Regions from separate parts of the Homo sapiens genome. Here regions 1 and 2 are each linked to region 3. The links are contacts of gene promoters, found by promoter capture Hi-C in human tissues and cell types (Jung and others, 2019). All regions are on one chromosome and are shown on one strand. Each heading gives the region's core, a stretch centred on a gene start or on the middle of the fragment in contact. The rest is flanking DNA. Distances are from core to core; before and after follow the strand shown. Region 1 holds the start of PKMYT1 (protein kinase, membrane associated tyrosine/threonine 1). Region 2 holds the start of IL32 (interleukin 32). Region 3 holds the start of PAM16 (presequence translocase associated motor 16).

Region 1 (3,111 bases), core at 568-3,067, 1.4 Mb before region 3:
TCCCAGCTACTCGGGAGGCTGAGGCAGGGGAATTGCTTGAACCTGGGAGGCAGAGATTACAGTGAGCCAAGATCATGCCACTGCACTCCAGCCTGGGCAACAGAGCGAGACTCTGTCTCAAAAAAAAAAAAAAATTTAATTGGATTGGACCGTGGAACACTTTATGCCCCAAGGTATTGTTTGTTTGTTTGTTTTTGAGACAGGGTCTCACTCTGTTGCCCAGGCTGGAGTGCAGTGGTATGATCTCGGCCCACTGCAGCCTCCGACTCCCAGGTTCAAGTAATTCTCTTGCCTCAGCCTCCTGAGTAGCTGGGATTACAGGCGTGTGCCAACACACTAGAATAATTTTTATATTTTTAGTAGAGATGTGGTTTCACCATGTTGGTGAGGCTGGTGCACCAAAGTATTATAAAAAACAATAGAGCGGCTGGGTGTGGTGGCTCACGCCTGTAATCCCAGCACTTCGGGAGGCAAGGTGGGTGGATCACTTGAGGTCAAGACTTCGAGACCAGCCTGGCCTACATGGTGAAACCCCATCTCTACTAAAGATACAAATTTTTGCCGGGCGTGCTGGTGCATGCCTGTAGTCCCAGCTACTCAGAGGCTGAGGCAGGAGAAATGCTTGAACCCAGGAGGTGGAAGTTGCGGTGAGCCGAGATTGCGGCATTGCACTCCAACTGGGCGACAAGAGCAAAACTCCATCTCAAAAAAATATACATAATAGTAAATAAAAAATTAAAAAGAGCAGTCTCCAGTACCTGAGGGAGTACAGGGGTGAGGGGAGCGATGCTACCTGGGCCTGGCTGGCAGGCTGCCCTCCATCTTGTGGAGACTCTTCCTCTGACTCTAACTACCTCAGAGTCCCAGCCCAGGGTTTCTCCAAGTCAGGAGCCAGGGTGTTGGGATCCTGGAGGTCACTGGTCACAAGCACAGCCTCCAGGCCCAACCCTGGCACACTCGGGGACCTGGGCCTGTGCATCTTAACCCAGTTCTCCCACCGTCCCTGCCCTACGACTTACGTTCTAGCATGACTGGCCTGGCCCAACAGCCTCAGTGGTGGGACGGGGGAGGCAGGAGCAGGGGCTCCCACGTGAATCCAGGGTGTCCCTGAGCTAAGGCCAGGCGGGGGTGACCTCCGCAGCTTCCGGGGCCCTGGGCGATCGGGCCGTCTCGCCTCACCCTCTCACCAGGCCCGACACATCTGCTGGCCACCTTTCCCGGTAGACGGTAAGTTCCTCCCAGGCAGGGCCGCGGCTGACTTCACTCCGTGGGTGTGGGGAAGCCCTGGCGAACAGAGCAGTGGACGGGCTGTCACGAGGGAAGAGGGGCTGTTGCAGAAGAAGAGAGGCTGTCCCGGGGCAGGGGCTGTCACGGAGGAAGGACTGTCACGGGGAGGGCGGCGGCGCGGGGTTGATGGACAGCAGGCGGGGTCTCCGGGAGGGGCGAGTAGGGCGGGACCGCCGCTGGGAAGGGGCTCGAGGCAAGGGAACCAGGAATTGGGGAGGACGGGAGGCAGGGGCTCGCGGGGGCGGGCCTGAGGGGACGCGAGCGGGCCGCCGGGGAGGCCTGAGGGGCAGGGGTAACGCAGACCTGGCGAGGCGGAGGGGAGCGGCGAGGTGGCCACGCCGAGGCCCCTCACGGCGGGGTCTGGGCTCACCTGGGGCGACTGGGCGGGGCGCGGGTCCGCGAGGGCCCAGATTCCGGGTCCGCGGAGGCCACGGGACCCCTCGGGTGGCTCAGCGGGCCGGAGTCTGCCGTCGACTGTTCCGGACGCCCGGGCGGAGGACTCCCGTGAGGGGGAACGGCCCGTGAACGCGCGCGGAGCTGCTCGCGCCAAAAATTCCAAACCGGCCTCGAGGCTCCTCCCCCTCCCCAGTGCAGCCCGTCAGGGGTGCCCGGGCTCCGAGGCTCCGCCCCTCGTGCTGCGTGCGCGCCGCCGAGCCGCCCCGCCGCTCACTGCGCAGGCGCACAGGATTCTCCGCGCTGGCCCGGGGCGTGGGTGGCGGCCTGGTTCTGAGTCGCTGCGCGGGGCTTCAGCCGCCCAGTCCCTGGGACGCCCACTGCCCTCCAGGCCTCGCACCCGACACCCACCGCCCTCGCTGGGCTGGCGTAGTGTTTGGGTCCATAAAAGGGACCGCCATCCCGGTGCTCGGAGCAGGCGTAGCCCCAGGGTTACTCCGGGTAGGACCAGGAAGTCCCTACGGCCTCCTGGGTCCCGGCACCCCCCTTCTCACTCCGGCCGTGTTCTGAACCAGGGTCGCGGTGGGAGGCCAGACGCACGACCCCCAACCCCTAGCGCACGGCTTCGGGAGCCAGAAAAAGCCGCCTCTTCCAGGAAGCTCTCCAGATAGGCAGGACTCTGCTTGGCCTGACCTCGCCTGCCTGCAGCTTCCCTGCCAACAGGCCTCAGATACTTTTTTTTTTTTTTTTAGACAGGGTCTCACTGTCACCAAGGCTGGAATGCAGTGGTGCAGTCCCCAGGTTCAGGCGGTTCTCCCAACCTCAGCCTGCCGAGTATGTGAGATCACAGGCGCGCGCCACCGCACTCGGCTCATGTATTTTATTTTTAGACAGGGTCTCATTCTGTTGTCCAGGCTGGAGTGCAGTGGGGCGATCTCGACTCACTGTAACTTCCGCCTCCCCCGCTCAAGCGTTCCTCCCACCTCAGCCTCCTGAGTAGCTGGGACCACAGGCGCGCGCCACCACACCCAACTAATTTTTGCATTTTTTTGTAGAGACGGTGTTTTACCATGTTGGCCAAGCTAGTGTCGAACTTCTGACCTCAAGCGATCCGCCCGCCTCGGCCTCCCAGAAGGCTGGGATTACAGGCGTGAGCCACCGCGATTGGCCGCAGGATCATAGTTCACTGCAGCCTCGAGCAGCCACTTCCGGGGCAGCTCCTCCATTCTCTGAGTTTGAGACTTGCTCTCAGCTCAGATCCCTTCAGCGCTCTCCTGGCTGAACGACCTTGGGAATGCACTGAGCCTTTCTGAGCTTCGGATTAGTCTCCTCTCCTGGAAAAAAAAAAACAGCTGAGGACGCTGGGATGATCCCCTAAAGTGATTAGCAGGGGCCCTCGCGGAGCAAGTCGGGCTAGGGATTGTTCCTTCC
Region 2 (3,243 bases), core at 1-2,500, 1.3 Mb before region 3:
AGTAGCTGGGAATACAGGTGCCGGCCACCACGCAAGGCTAATTTTTGTATTTTTAGTAGAGACAAGGTTTCACCATGTTGGCCAGGCTGGTCTAGAACTCCTGACCTTAGGTGATCTGCCCGCCTCGGCCTCCCAAAGTGTTGGGATTACAGGCGTGACCCACTGCGCCCGGCCTAGGGTGGACCCTATTTCAATATGACTGGTGTCCTTTGGAAAGGGGAAAGGGGGACAGTCACACCCAGGCAGAACGTGATGAAGATGAAGATGGCCATCTACAAGGGCAGGAGAAACCTGAACAGAATCCCAGCTCCGGGCCCTCAGAAGGACCCCACGCTGCCCACATTGACCTTGGACCTCCAGCCTGCAGATCGTGAGGGAAGAGACGTCTTCGACTTAGGGCCCCTTGTCGTGGTACTTCCTTAGTTTGGCCCCAGGAAACCATCCCAAAGGCAAGGGCGTGGTTGTGCTCAGCTGGGGGAAGGGGGCTGGGGGCCGTGAGGAGGAGGTGGGAGGCCCAGCCAGGCTGGAGGGTCAGAACCCGTGGAGCTAGAAGAGCCCGTAGGGGAGCCCCAAGATTGCTGAGACCAGTGACCTTCGGCCCCAGATGGCCTTGCCTTGGCCCAGAAGGGTCAGAAGGACCTGGTCAGCCAAGCTCAGACAGCCGGCAGGATGCCTTCCACCCTGCAGAGGGTCCTATCTTGTCCCACAGGTAGATCTACATCACCACTAGCCACCCCTCCAACGTGCACAGGCCCCTGCCCTCACGGCGCCCCTCTTAGGTCCGGCAGTTCCTGCCTCCTTCTGATCCAGAAGTTTCTCTGGCCTCTGGAGCCGGGGCACACCTCATGCAAGGACAGGGTCCAAATTCCTTTGTCCTTGGATCCCACTTGGCTGACGTCACCTTCCTGTACTCAGGGAGTTTCCCCAGCCAGCTGTCCCGAGTCTGGACTTTCCCTCTGCCCCTCCCCACTCTCAGGCTGGTGGGGTGGGGAAAGCAGCCCATTCCTGGGCTCAGAGACTCCCACCCCAGCTCAGAGGGAGCAGGGGCCCAGCCAGGGACGGACCCTCATTCCTCCCAGGGACCCCAGACCTCTGTCTCTCTCGGGTAAGTCTCCATCTCTGTCTGTCTCTGTCTCTGTCTCTGTCTCTGTCTGTTTTTCACGCACTCAGCAAGGCCTCCTGCCCTGAGAGAGGCTCCGCCCACTACCCCCCACTTTCCCCATAAAACCAGCTGAGTATTTGTGCCAGGAAGACTGCGTGCAGAAGGTGACTGTCTCAGTGGAGCTGGGTCATCTCAGGTGGGGAGTTGGGGTCCCCGAAGGTGAGGACCCTCTGGGGAGGAGGGTGCTTCTCTGAGACACTTTCTTTTCCTCACACCTGTTCCTCGCCAGCAGGCCTTGGCTCCTTGAACTTTTGGCCGCCATGTGCTTCCCGAAGGTGAGTGAGAGGCTGCGTGTGCTTTTGTGGGCATGTCTGAAAACAGACCGTAAGGGTGCGGGTGCCCTCAGTATTTCCCGAGGTGCCTGTGTGTCAGGGCTCAGTCAGGGGCACCCAGCGGCAGGAGGATAGTGATGGGGTGAGAGTGTCAGTGGAGGCGCTGGAGGTCATATGTGTCGGGGGCGCTGGAGAACGGCAGGGGTGTGGATGAGAGGGAGCACCTGTCCCAGGAGCCCTTCACAGCCCGGAAAGCCCGGGGCAGGGGTGGGGCAGGGCTCTGCTGGAAACGACTCGGAGAATGCTTCTCTCAGAGGCCGGCTCAGCTGGGTGGGCCCAAGAGCAAGGCCTGTGTGGGTCCTGGTGTCTCTTCCTCCTTTCCTGGGTTCCCTCCGACCTCCCATCCTCTACCACTGCCCCACCGCAAATGCTAGGCCCACCACACCCTCCAGGGAGCTCTTCGGCCTGTGACAATAGGGGTTTCCATGATGTGGCCTGGCTCAGGTTCAGGACAGTGACCCGGAGGACACATGGCTCCCGCATGTCGGCACGGTGCTGCTTTCACCCTGGTTCCTGGGAAATCAGGCTAGCGGGATGGGACCATCGCTGCCTGAAAGTGTGCAGACAGCTGCCCTGCCCAGAATATGTCCCCAGGCCCTGCGCACTCTGTGGGTGACTGTCACCACTCTATAGTGGGGGAAACCAGGCATGTCACCCCCGAGACTAGGCCCTTGACGTGGGGGCTCAGCGGGGATTCTGTGGGGTGCCTCTGGCCTCTGTGGATGCAGCCACGTGTCTGCAGGCAGGAATGGCCCGGGACCTGTGGGTCTGCATGTTGGCAGTCGGGAAGAGTGGCAGGTTGTAGGGTGGACCTACCTGGCACCCCAAATATTAATCAGCTCATCAGAGAGGAATGGCTGCTGTTACCTTCTCAATTGTCATGTCCCTAAACATTTTTTCCTTGGCCAACTCTCACCTGGGACCATAGTGGTTGTGGGAAACCCAGCTGAGCCAGCCTGCTCCAGGACAGTGTCCATCCTCCCGTGTGTGTACATGGGGGGGTGTGTGTGTGCAGGGAGGACACCCCGGCCCACGCAGGCCCTGCTCTTGTGAGGAGGGGTCACCTAGGCCCACGCAGGCCCTGCTCTTGTGAGGAGGGGTCACCTAGGCCCACGCAGGCCCTGCTCTTGTGAGGAGGGGTCACCTAGGCCCACGCAGGCCCTGCTCTTGTGAGGAGGGGTCACCTAGGCCCACGCAGGCCCTGCTCTTGTGAGGAGGGGTCACCTAGGCCCATGCTGGCCCTGCTCTTGGGCCTGCCCAGCTGAGCCGGCTCCTGAGAGAAGCGCTTTCTGAGTCGTTTCGAGGACAGCCCTGGCCGGTCTTTCCAGGCTGTGAGGGGCTCCTGGGACTGCTGTCTCCTCTTATCCTGTACCTCTGCCATGTGTCTCTGTGTGTGTGTGTGTGTGTGTGTGTGTGTGTGTGTGTGTATAAATTATCCTGGAGGAAAGGTTAAGGTGACACATGGAGACTGAGTGTCACCGTTATTTCCGCAGGTCCTCTCTGATGACATGAAGAAGCTGAAGGCCCGAATGGTAATGCTCCTCCCTACTTCTGCTCAGGGGTTGGGGGCCTGGGTCTCAGCGTGTGACACTGAGGACACTGTGGGACACCTGGGACCCTGGAGGGACAAGGATCCGGCCCTTTGGTGCCAACTCTGCCTCTCTTCACAGCACCAGGCCATAGAAAGATTTTATGATAAAATGCAAAATGCAGAATCAGGACGTGGACAGGTGGGTGGATTTCCCCTCA
Region 3 (3,446 bases), core at 470-2,969:
ACATAAAATTTAAAAATTAGCCAGGTGTGCTGGCACTCACCTGTAGGCCCAACTACTTGGGGGTCTAAGGTAGGAGGATGGCTTGAGCCTAGGAGTTCAAGGCTGCAGTGAGCTAGGATCGCTCCACTGCATCCTAGCCGGGGCGACAGACAGACATCCTATCTCAAAAAACAAACCAAAAAAACCCCATGAGTTTTGGGACAGAGCTGGGCTCAAAAGAGGTCTCTGACACCATGGGATGCATGACTATGGTGGAGTCAAAACTGTCTGGGGCTCAGGTTCCTTATCTGTAAAATAAGGACAATGACAGCAGGACTTCATAAACACTAAATGAGAGACTCTACATAAAGCCTTAGCTCAGGGGCTGGCACTTGTACGCCGTTAGCTGTTACATTATCCTTATTACTATGTTAGTTAAGAAGTGGCTCCCCGAACCAGCTGCAACAGAGTCACTTGGGGAACTTACGTGTGCAGAACCTCCAGGGATAGAGCTCAAGAACCTGAACTTTTTTTTTCCCCCTCTTTTTCTTTTTGAGAGAGTTTTGCCCTGTCGCCCAGACTGGAGTGCAGTGGCACAATCTTGGTTCACTGCAGCCTCTGCCTCCTGGGTTCAAGCGATACTGGCGCCTCAACTTCCCAAGCAGCTGGGATTACAGGTGTGTGCCACCATGCCTGGCTAACATATGTATATATTATGTGTGTGTGTGTGTATATATATATATAAAATACATGATATATAAAAATATATATAACATAATAATATGTAGTATACATAAATGTATACGGTATATATAATACATATATATAATTTTTTTTTTGAGACGCAGTCTCACCCTGTCGCCCAGGCTAGAGTGCACTGGCGGATCTCGGCTCATTGCAACCTCTGTCTCGCGGGTTCAAGCGTCTGTCCTGCCTCAGCCTCCCGGGTAGCTTGGACTACAGGCGCGCACCACCCCACCCGGCTAATTTTTTAAATTTTTTGGTGGAGACCGGGTTTCATCATGTTGGCCAGGCTGGTCTCGAACTCCTGACCTCGTGATCCGCCGCCTCGGCCTCCCAGAGTGCTGGGATTACAGGCGTGAGCCACCGCGCCCAGCCAAACCTGCACTTTTAAAGCTACCCTAGGTGACCTGACAGTGTGGCGCAGGTCTGTTGACTGGCTCTACGTGCCAACGATATCACACAAACGCTCCGTGCTCGGTGTCTCGGGGCCTAGTTCAAGTCCCAGGTCAGCCACTTCCCTGGAAAGGCCAGCTTTCCACTGGGGATAACAACAGGGCAGCAACATCGACTCTGCAGCGCTGTAAGGTTCCAGGGCAGGGGAGGCGCTCACCAGCCAGACTCATGCTCCACCGCTGCCCACGGCTGCTCGCTCACACGCGGGCTAGGCACAGCGCGACCACGTTTGCCCGGCCTCTTCCAGGCAGACGGTTTTCCCTGGCCCTGAGGCCGCCGGTGCCGCCGCTGCCGGCCTCGATTCCCCCGGGTGCAACGCCCCCAGACCATGCTTCCCGCCGGGCACGCAGGGGGCGCACGGCGCCCGCCGCCCAGCCCGGAGCTCGCCGCCCGGCCCCCGGCCCCCGGCCCGACTCGGCTTCCCCTCCCCGGTAGCGCCCGACTCGGGGCTCACCATGGCAGCCGCTCTGCCTCCGGGGCTCAAACTCCGACTTCCTGGCCCCGCGGCCGGGGATCAAGCGTGGTCGGCGGGTCAGAGGTCAAGGAAAGCCGCAGAGAGCGCGTGCGCGATACGGCGCTGGGCATGCGCATTGCCTCAGTCTAAGGGCGGGCCACCGGGAGCGTCTTAGCGGCTCGGGGCGGGGTCGGAGGCGGGGTTTGACTGAGCCTGCGTCGGGCTCTGGATAACTGGGGGCGGGCTTGGGAGGGCAAGGGGCGTTACCGGGAGTCTCAATTGCCCGCGTGCTTACCCCAGTGCGCTGGAGCAGCTAAGCACATCGGTCAGACGTGGGGCGATTTCTGCCCTTGATTTTGCCAAAATATTTGGGAATGCAACATTATATGAAATCAATGAACATAATATGGAGTAGGATGCTAAATTCTCAAAAATACTTTAGAAAATAGAAAACTTCAAAATAGGTTTCATCCACATTCCTCCTGCCTGAGAAGCTCGTTCCCTTCTTCAAATCTTTGCTCAAATGTCACCTCAATGAGGCCCACCTGGACCCCTTAAAACGCCGTGACTTGCCCTCCATGAATGAAAAAAGTAACAGCTTTATTGAGATATAATCCATACACTGTAGATTTCATGATTTTCAAGTGCACAGTCCAATGCCTTTTATTCACAGAGCTGTGCCACTGTCACCACTATTAGTTCCAGAACGTTTTCATCACCCATTAGTCACTCCCCAGCCCCCTCCCCCAGCCCCTGTCAACCACTCATTTTTCTCTCTATGGATTCACAGGTTCCGGACATTTCATAGAAATGGAATCATACAAGCCAGGCGTGGTGGCTCATGCCTGCAATCTCAAAACTTTGGGAGGCCGAGGTGGATCGCTTGAGGTCAGGAACTCAAGGCCAGGCTGGGCAACATGGTGAAACCCCATCTCTACAAATACAAAAATTAGCCGGGTGTGGTGGCAGGTGCCTGTAATCCCAGCTACTTGGGAGGCTGAGTGGTGGATCTCTTGAGCCCGGGAGGTACAGGCTGCAGTGAGCTGTGATCACTGCACTCCAGCCTGGGTGACAGAGTCAGGCCCTGCCTCAAAAAAAAAAAAAAAAAAAAAAAAGGTAAAAATGAAAAATGAAAAAAAAGAAGAAATTGAATCATACAATGTGCAGCCTTTTGTGACTGGCTTATCCTCCCTTCTTGTCTCTATTTTTCTTCCAAGACTCTGATCACCCTCTACCATACCACATAATTTACTTATTTATTTTATTTATCATTTTGAGACAGGGTCTCACCCTGTCGCCCAGGCTGGAGTCCAGTGGCACAATCCTGCCTCACTGCAACCTCCACCTCCCAGGTTCAGGCGATGCTCATGCTTTAGCCTCCTGAGTAGCTGGGATTACAGGCATGGACCACCATGCCCCATTAATTTTTGAATTTTTAGTAGAGACAGGGTTTCACCATGTTGGCCAGGCTGGTCTTGAACTACTGGTCTCAAATGATCCACCCGCCACAGCCTCCCAAAGTGCTGGGATTATAGGCATGTGACACTGTGCCCAACCGGTTTTTTATTTTTAAATTATTTTTCCTTTTTTTTTTTTTTTTGAGATGAAGTCTTGCTCTGTCACCCAGGCTGGAGAGCAGTGGCCCAATCTTGGCTCACTGCGATCTCCACCTCCTGGGTTCAAGTGATCCTCCCACTTCAGCCTCCGAAAGTGCTGGGATTACAGGTGTAAGCCACCGTGCCCAGCCAAAAAAAAATTTTTTTTTTTCAAGATAGGGTCTCACTCTGTTGCCCAGGCTGCAGTACAGTAGCATGAT

The links. The method cuts DNA at HindIII sites, captures the fragments that hold promoters and counts their contacts. A contact is called where the count stands out against the background at its distance.
Region 1: the fragment with the promoter of PKMYT1 here is called in contact with the fragment with the promoter of PAM16 in region 3 in 1 of the 25 tissues and cell types used here (spleen).
Region 2: a contact is called between the fragment with the promoter of IL32 here and the fragment with the promoter of PAM16 in region 3, in 1 of the 25 tissues and cell types used here (spleen).

Annotation. Positions count from the first base shown.
Region 1 is chr16:2,978,629-2,981,739 of GRCh38, forward strand. It overlaps PKMYT1 (protein kinase, membrane associated tyrosine/threonine 1), which reads right to left and starts at 1,818. Exons shown (of 9, transcript NM_004203.5): 1 at 1,658-1,818; 2 at 1,020-1,284. The coding sequence starts at 1,029. RefSeq lists enhancers at 508-1,384, 1,385-2,260, 2,261-3,111 and silencers at 1,552-1,781, 1,792-2,151. The HindIII fragment of the contact is 14,611 bases long and covers 1-3,111 here.
Region 2 is chr16:3,064,390-3,067,632 of GRCh38, forward strand. It overlaps IL32 (interleukin 32), which reads left to right and starts at 1,251. Exons shown (of 7, transcript NM_001376923.1): 1 at 1,251-1,298; 2 at 1,395-1,437; 3 at 2,988-3,026; 4 at 3,165-3,224. The coding sequence starts at 1,423. RefSeq lists an enhancer at 745-1,054. The HindIII fragment of the contact is 16,762 bases long and covers 1-3,243 here.
Region 3 is chr16:4,349,602-4,353,047 of GRCh38, forward strand. PAM16 (presequence translocase associated motor 16) reads right to left here and starts at 1,720. Exons shown (of 5, transcript NM_016069.11): 1 at 1,631-1,720. The coding sequence starts at 1,633. All of the region lies in intron 27 of CORO7-PAM16 (CORO7-PAM16 readthrough), which reads right to left. The HindIII fragment of the contact is 27,496 bases long and covers 1-3,446 here.